Linked DNA regions of Homo sapiens: region 1 is linked to region 2. The links are contacts of gene promoters, found by promoter capture Hi-C in human tissues and cell types (Jung and others, 2019). All regions are on one chromosome and are shown on one strand. Each heading gives the region's core, a stretch centred on a gene start or on the middle of the fragment in contact. The rest is flanking DNA. Distances are from core to core; before and after follow the strand shown.

Region 1 (4,195 bases), core at 1,276-3,775, 170 kb before region 2:
AAGTACACCATGATCACCATCTTTAAATAGTGGGGCCAAATTTCCTCTGCACATCCAAGAGATCTAGAAACACTATTTACATTTCTGAGCTAAGGGGAAAATAAAGAAAAAAAGAAATATTTTTCTCCTGGTTTTTTATGGCATGGGAAACTGAAAAAAGAAAATGTTCTCTAAAGCTGGATAGTACTTGCTAGCAAAACATGCATTTCATTACTGGTGGGAGTTTCACAGTGTTCAGCAGAGGGTTGCTCGTTATCCAGTGGATTATAGATGGGCTCTATTCTGAAATTGCTGGGCAGCTTAACTGTGAACCTCAGGGAAGTAAGGGGTTAGGATACCATGATGTGATTGCGGAAATAGACACCATCAGAGTTTGAACATATTATACAAAGAAATAATATGATTCCTAGGAAAAGATCTAGGGAAAAATTAAGTTTTTATTTTGGGCCAGTGTAATCTCACATTCAAAGGAAACTTCCCTGCATTCATTCAGACGTTGGTCTCAGGAGCCACTTAGATAACAAGGAGGTTGGAACAGAAAAAGTAATTTCAACATTGGCAACTAAAAAAAGTTAACTTTTGTTCTTGGGTTTTGGCTATAATTTTGCGGGGGGGCAGTTGAGGGGCCTCTGTAATGAGTCAAATTATAAAACTTTTACATAAAATGTTTGCAAAGTACTTAGACAAATTGAGTTATTCTTTTCCAAGAGATTTTCCTGCAAATTTCAGTCATGCACATTTGGTTCGTTGACATACCTTGGGCTAGATTACAAACAGTTTTTATTAAAAACTAATTTTCAGGCTTTTATCAATCCAGCATCTGGAACGTTGTGCATTTGAACTTGCATTTTTCCATAGGTAGGTAACCCAATTATAATAATTACATTATGGAAAATTTATGACCTTCTTCTTTGCTACTCAGAATTTATTTTACCTGCTCAGAGTAAATTGTTGAGAATCCGAGAATCACAATCATTGCTGAGAGTGGCCCAAAAGTATTTTCCAATCCCATTGCTATGTGGGCATGGGATGCTTCAGAATATAAATTATCATCCATTTTAAAATCATCTAGCCAACACGCCAAATTCTACAAAGGTATTATTCGAATGAAAAAATTATAAATACTTAAAACAAAAATAAGAAGAGGGCTTTTTTGGCATCTATTTCTTTGTTGTTCACTTAAGTCATTTTTCTTATTGTCAACTGAAGTCCCCTTCCTTTATTTCTGTCTAAAAGTGAGTTATTAGTAAGATAAGAAAGTAAAAACTGGGACATAAACTATATTCAGGTATAAAATATTCCAATAAGAAAGTAAAAGTTTACTACTCCCTAGAAGTAAAAAATGGCCAGGGTTGTTGAACTATGGAATGTTAAGTGTCCCCAGGTGACTTTGCAACAGTCAAGAAGGGTGAATGTGCAAATCTGGCTCATCTTCGCAAGAAGGATTTTGTTCAATATTTTGATATGCTTCATTCTACAAAATTAAGTTAATTTGGAGGGATTAGTCACAGTTAGTCGTGATGCTTAGAAGAAACATAAACTGTCAAAAGCAGCTGTGCTCTCAGTTTTATTATCATTTGAATAGTTTTCTAAACACTTAAAAGCCCTAAGGCCTTAAAACTAAAGTTAAATCCTAATGCCTGTTATTTTTGAAGAGATGACTTCCATTGCATACCTTGGGTATCTATGAGTCTTTTACATTTCATAAAATTAGGAGCTCATAATGATGAACTGGAAATATCCTATTTAGTCTTTACAACTGTAGAAAACTGAATTCGTAAACTTAGCACTGTGGAGATCTGTGCTCGTGGGAGAGAAAGGATCATTTACTCAGTTGGCATACACCAAACACTACACCACATTGGTAAATAACTATTGTAACTCTAAACATCTCTGTTTGTTGTCTGTGATTAATTCATTCTATACACGTATATCTATTCTCCCCCTCTATCTCTCTATCATGATTTATATCTGTGAACACGTGTATGTGTAGTTTATGCATGTATCCACACATAAAGATGTATACATATATATCTATATATACATGTGGGTATGTGTTCCTTTCCTTCTTTTAACATTTAACGTATTTCACAAGCTTAAAAAAGACTATTGCATACCACTAAGAAAATTATGTGACTCATTCACTAAAATTATTTTTAATAGTGTGAGGCACGTAAGTTGTTCAATTTATCATGAGCACAATTGATTGATTCATACCCCAAATGGATACTGTGCAGAATATTATAGGCTTCCCTCTCTATCCTTGGGCTATGATTTATAACTTTCTGACAAATTTATTTGAATCCGTGAAAAAATGATTGAATGATTTCAGCCTATATTTAAGTGTTATTGGAGGCAATAAATCATACTTTGAAAGACTTATGGTACTAGAGAATTGCTCTTCACAAGTTGACAGAATTCACTTTTAAGTGGCTTCATCCAGCACTGTGGTGGTCCTTGTAAATAAAGGAACGAATCCCTACTCACTCATGGAATTTAATAGTGTATAATTGGACCATTGGCCTTAATATCTCAACACAGTTACCAGAGACTTTTTTTTTTAATGTGGCTCTTGGAATGTCACCTGCTTTTCCTTACCTTCCATTTAGGAAGAGAATGAGATGTCTATCTGACATATCTGAGTGCCTTAGAATTATGGGAAGCAGGCCATGGAGTTAAAAAAATGTGCTTTATAATTGTGTAAATGAAATGTATATTTCCATGAATAGGCAGTGGGAAAACCTTATGAGAGAAACACAGAACGAAAGCACACTTAGAAAGAGGAGAGATTTTCCAATATCGATGAGGGATTTAAATGATGACCAATACTAAGAGATTTCATAGTTTTTGGAGAGTAAGAGAAGTACAGGAATTAATGGGCAGAACACAGCAGTCAGAATGTGCATTGCAGTAATGCCTTGTATCAATATCTATATTGTTTTATATCATAACTGAATAATGACAACATAATGCTAGAAATTGGAAATGGGTTGAAAGAAAAGCTCAAAGCCTAAGTAATTCTGGCAAACAGAATTATTTCAAAATAATTTCTGCTTTTTTCTTTTTACACTTTAAGTGTGTGCAGTACTCAATCGATGCATTCCTTTCAGTTTAAATCTGAAAGTAACTGCTCTGAACAAGTCGGGATAGAATGGCCTTTGTGGAGAACAAACATAGCCAGTAACTGCCCCAGTCCTCTCCCCATGATTCGAAGGAAAGTCTGATTTATGGCTTCATCTCTGCTGTTGGACAGAGAGGCCTCAGCCCATTGGAAATCTCCAGAGCCGTGGGAGAGGGGTGAGGCTGTGGTCCACCACAGTTGAGGATTTTCAAGGCCTCGTTTTCTTTTGGCCAAGTCCAAATGGTAACAGTGTGTTACGGCCTGACTTACTGACTCTAGCTGGGCTAGGAAACTATAGATTCTAAATGGCATCTCTGTGATTTAAGACAGTATACATAATCAGCTTTCTTTTTTAAAATTTGCCAGTTACACATGAATGTTTCATGGAAAATAAGTCAATTGTAGCGTTCCCCATTTTTCAAAAAAGCAAAGGATTTTTTTTCTTTTACAATATGAGTAGGAAATGGAGCATAATGGGAAGCCAAATTGATCAATTGTTGTTTCTAAGTAGAGTGATTTTAAGATTTGATTTGGGAAGAACTGTTTCAATTTACTCTGCTGTCCAGCCATATTTTTAATAATGCCCCCCTTTCAATCTCAAAAGTCTTCAAGCTTAGGCAACAAATTCTAAGATCATCCTATTTTTACATATATAGATACCTTTTGATTTTCAGGTAGGCGTAATATTTTTAAATGGTAGCGTACTGAAAACAGGCTAGGATTTTAAAAGATGTAGAAATTTGCTTTTTGAAACTCTTCCCACCAAATGAAAATCATCCCCAGTACCCTAGAGAAGCTCACCCAGACACTTCTACAGTTTTAGGAACTAATTTATGAAATAAAGACTCTACCAAGGAAATTCTTGTGTTCTCATATTTTATTCTTAAATTATTTCAATGAGAATGCTTATTTTTTTTTCTACAAGAGCAGGACAAGTGAATTTCCCTTTTCTATACCTTTTTTATCCATATATGAATTGAGGAGCATCTTGAAAATGTGATTTTCAATGTGCAATAAGAGGTCATTTCAACCTACTGAAATACAGAAGTGATTAAAGTAGAAGAGGAAGGATGA
Region 2 (4,168 bases), core at 748-3,247:
TGTAGGTATTCTCTGCAAGTATATTAGCTGTAAAGAAACATTCCTGTATTTTGACTTGAAGTTCTACTATGAAAATCATTCTAACTCTCTGGACTACAAATTCATAAAATTATAAAACCAAATAATGAAACACATGTTAAAAGTAATAGGTGTCATTATACATAATGAAGCTATTATCCCTATACAGTACTTTTTTTCCCAGAACAAATGAATAAAACATATTTATTCCTGCAAAGTAAGTGATGTTTAGGCAAACCACAGGTAAAACTTCTTGCAAATTTACACATGATAAAATAGTCTAAGGAGATGTTTGCAGGCATTTAGATTAACAAGGGACATTTTTAAGGTTTGGGATAGGGAATGGGAACACTGTCAGCAGCTCAAGAGCAGGAATCCTCTAGATGACATATGCATTCTCTAGGCTTTCAGATGGGCTAAGCAGGACATATTCTTGTTGAGCTCTGCACTAGGGCAACACTATTATTAATTATGCAAACTTTTTTTTTTTTGGATGGGTAAGAGAATTTGAGAATGACTCAGCAAGAGATTTCAAAATCAAACGCCTCTACCTGCTTATTGAACATGTTCTTTTTAAAAATCTACTTCTGCTCTGTATCCTGGGCATTAAAAGCTTAAGATCTATGGAAGGGAAGCTCCATCATTGCAGTGGCCTCTGAGAAAGACCCAGTTTTGCAAAGAACACTTGGTCAGTTCAGTTCCACCTAGCCTTCCTATACTTTTAGTTTAAGTTGAAAATACTTGGTACTTTTTCAAGATTGGCTTCTTACTTTTCTCTAACAAACATGAATAAAACCTAGTAAAATCTCCAAACCAAAGATGACTTTATCTGTCAAAGTTGTGTGTGTGTGTGTGTGTGTGTGTGTGTGTGTGTGTGTGTGTTTACCTTCATACATTCCTCTAGATGATAACTTGGATAGGGGGAACACTAGTCAAATAATATGTAAGGCTTTTTTTTTTTTTACAAGTCCTTGCTAAAGTGACAGTTTTAAAGATTTAGTTGGAAAAGGAAAGCTCCCAATCACCAGTCCCTTGGAAGCTTGTTGGGGGAGAAGTCATCTCACCTATTTTGGAAACTACTTGCAGATGTGGGGAAACCTCGGAATTGCTCACAACAGGGGTTTTACAGAGATTTCCTCTGATTTTTTTCCTCCCCAATTTCCCACAACCTGTGTTTGTCTTGAGTCTGCTCGGCTGACATGTGGTTTACCTCGCTGACCCTCCTGCCAGGTTTTACACCCTCTCCTCTGAAGAAGTAAAACATTACTGAAGCCGAAGGATACTGAGCAACTCTGCTCATGGGCGCCAGAACTGTCACAGAAAATTTGCTTCCCGAGTATTCCATCCAGCTTCCCTTCCTGCGCCCACGTGAGCCATAGCGCCAGCCCATCGGCAAGGTCTCAGCGTTTCCTGCTGCTGCAATCTGTAACTCGATTTTGGATTTTTTTTTTAATTGCAGTTCTGAGGATCTTAGTTCTTAGCAAAACTTTGTTGGTTAGGAGACCAACAGTAGTCTGTTTATTTTCTTACCAAAATCGTGAAGACTCGCACACTTTTCCTCCATTCCTGCGCTGCTCTAAGGTTAAACAGCAGCAAAGGAAAGAAATACACACTCGCTGTTTATTTGGGGGGAGGGGAAATATGGATTTGCAGCTAAGTTATCACGATCCTTCGCTCCACCCCCGGTCTGGCACTCTCAACTGACACGTACATCATCTATTAATTGCTGTTTGCGTACACAGATACATAATATATTCATTTTTATCTTTGGTAAAATATAAATGGAATTGTCAGCGCGCTCCTGTCTGTTTGTTTGTCTAAGGCTATCAAAAGAAGTCAAGAGAGGAGGCTGTGGTCCGGATCCTGACCCTGATTGTATGAATAAGTAAGCAGGATGCAAGTGATTGGGTTAGATGGTGCGAATATTTTTTTTTTTCAAGTTAGGAAGAGGGTAAAAAGACAGGCTGGCGGGGGGAAGGCAAACAGTGCATCCCCAAATCCTCACACTTTTGCTCTCTTGCAGTCAGTTGCTTTGCTGGCTTCTGCAGGCTTTTAAGGTCTCGCGGCGTAGAAATGCCTGGCCCCCACCCCCTTCCTCGGTCTCCCCTTTCAATTCAGATGTGCTGATGTGCAGACCGGATTCATCTTCTCGGAGCTGCGGCGGCGGCTTTGGGCTCAGGCGGCGGCGGCTCGCGCTCGGCCGCGGAGTCCTGGCAGCAGCGGGGACGCGGCGCGGGAGTCCGAGCTCTGGTGGCAGCTGAGCCCGCGGGGCGCCGCTCGCCGAGCCGCGGCCGCGGGAAGTTCGGCAGCCAGAAGGACGACCTGGCAGGCTGCGAGCGCCAGCGCCGCCAGAGCCGAGTTTGCCTGCGCCCTCCCCGCCTCCGAGTGCAGAGTTCCTTACCTGCCCTCCGCCCACCCGTGGGCCCCTAGCCAACTTCTCCCTGCGACTGGGGGTAACAGGCAGTGCTTGCCCTCTCTACTGTCCCGGCGGCATCCACATGTTTCCGGACACCTGAGCACCCCGGTCCCGCCGAGGAGCCTCCGGGTGGGGAGAAGAGCACCGGTGCCCCTAGCCCCGCACATCAGCGCGGACCGCGGCTGCCTAACCTCTGGGTCCCGTCCCCTCCTTTTCCTCCGGGGGAGGAGGATGGGGTTGGGAACGCTTTCCCCGAGGATGCTCGTGTGGCTGGTGGCCTCGGGGATTGTTTTCTACGGGGAGCTATGGGTCTGCGCTGGCCTCGATTATGATTACACTTTTGATGGGAACGAAGAGGATAAAACAGAGACTATAGATTACAAGGACCCGTGTAAAGCCGGTAAGTGGCTCTCCAGGTTGGGACGGTGGCGCGCCGGGGGCCGCTGCGCTGGGTTTCCCATGGGTGGCGGTGGGAGCTCACCTGTTTCCTTCCCTCCCGCGTCAGCCCCTCCGCCGCCCCTCCTTCTCTCCCCCTCCTTTTCCTTCCCTTCCCCACCCGCAAGTGGCAGCCGCTGCGGCCCCAGTTGACTAGAGTTCTGTGCCAGTGGGATCCACTGCCAAGCTCCCATCTCCCAGTTTGGGAATAAGGTCCTAGAGTTTCTGATCCCTCTCCCCTCCCCCAGCAAAACGAAACAAGTCGTAAATATAGCTTGCTGCTGTAGGTTTTAAATTCCAACACTCAGCGGGCTTTATGCATATGGAAGGGACACCGTCTTCTTTCCCCTCTCCCCCAGGGCGCGGTTTCCCAGCGCTTGTTCGAGAGCGAGTTGGCAGGGTTCCCCAAAAGATACAGGAGGATGGCATTGCTACCTGGAGACACCTTGGCTCCCTCTTTTACCAGGAATTTCAAGTGTGGGTTCCAGGCTAGAAAGGGATTGTGACAATCTCGGAAGAACTCACTTCTAGATGGGATTCTGATGCATTTGCCCATTTAAAATAAACTGAAAAGAAAAATGTTTTTAAGTTGCTACCCCATTCAAATTTGTGTCTTCCTTCCAGCTAACACCCCAGGGAAATGCAGTCGGACCGGCACTGCCTGAAGCTCAGCTTCTTGCCTCGCAGGGTCCCTGAATGTCCCAGGTCCTTCCCCTCCCTTCTACGCCTCTGGCGCCGCTGCCAGCCTCTCGCGCGCGCGGGGCGGCGCTTCCCTCTCGCCGCCTAAGGTCGGAGGCGCACGTGCCCGGGGCCGCTACCACGTGAGCGCAGCGCCTGAGGGCGCCCAGCACTGGCCGCGGCTCGTGTCCGGGCTTCGGGAGCTCCTGGTTCCTTGCTCTATTGGGCTGTGGCTGAGGTGATCCGCGCTCAGTGTGGACGCACAAGTAACTTCGTAAAGGTTGCATGGTGGTTGGGGCTAACCTAGCAGAGCGGTTTGTAAGCGGAAGGCACGTTAGGTTCCATCCCAAGAGGTGTGGGCTTTAGCGAAGCGCAGAGGAAGGGAGTGGACAAAGTCAAATATATCTAGGGTTCTGCAGATTCCGTGCGGGGTTGCTCTGTGACTAGCTTTTCTTCCCTTCCATAACTAGATAAGCATTATTCACCCTCTCTTGGGCCTGGAGGAAGGAGAGGTGTACACAATGAAGAAAAATGCTGGAAATTCCCTAGTTAATTTTTACCTTTGATGACCCATTGTTCTGACAAAAAGGGTATGTGTGTTGTGTTCACATTATCACATCT

The links. Contacts are between HindIII fragments. The study calls those that stand out against the background at their distance.
Region 1: a fragment that was not itself captured here is called in contact with the fragment with the promoter of TLL1 in region 2 in 1 of the 25 tissues and cell types used here (mesenchymal stem cells).

What each region holds. Positions count from the first base shown.
Region 1 is chr4:165,696,087-165,700,281 of GRCh38, forward strand. All of the region lies in intron 3 of LINC01179 (long intergenic non-protein coding RNA 1179), which reads left to right. Among named protein-coding and RNA genes, the nearest start is that of LINC01179, 14 kb to the left of the region's middle. The HindIII fragment of the contact is 5,002 bases long and covers 25-4,195 here.
Region 2 is chr4:165,871,240-165,875,407 of GRCh38, forward strand. It overlaps TLL1 (tolloid like 1), which reads left to right and starts at 1,998. Exons shown (of 21, transcript NM_012464.5): 1 at 1,998-2,834. The coding sequence starts at 2,666. The HindIII fragment of the contact is 12,105 bases long and covers 845-4,168 here.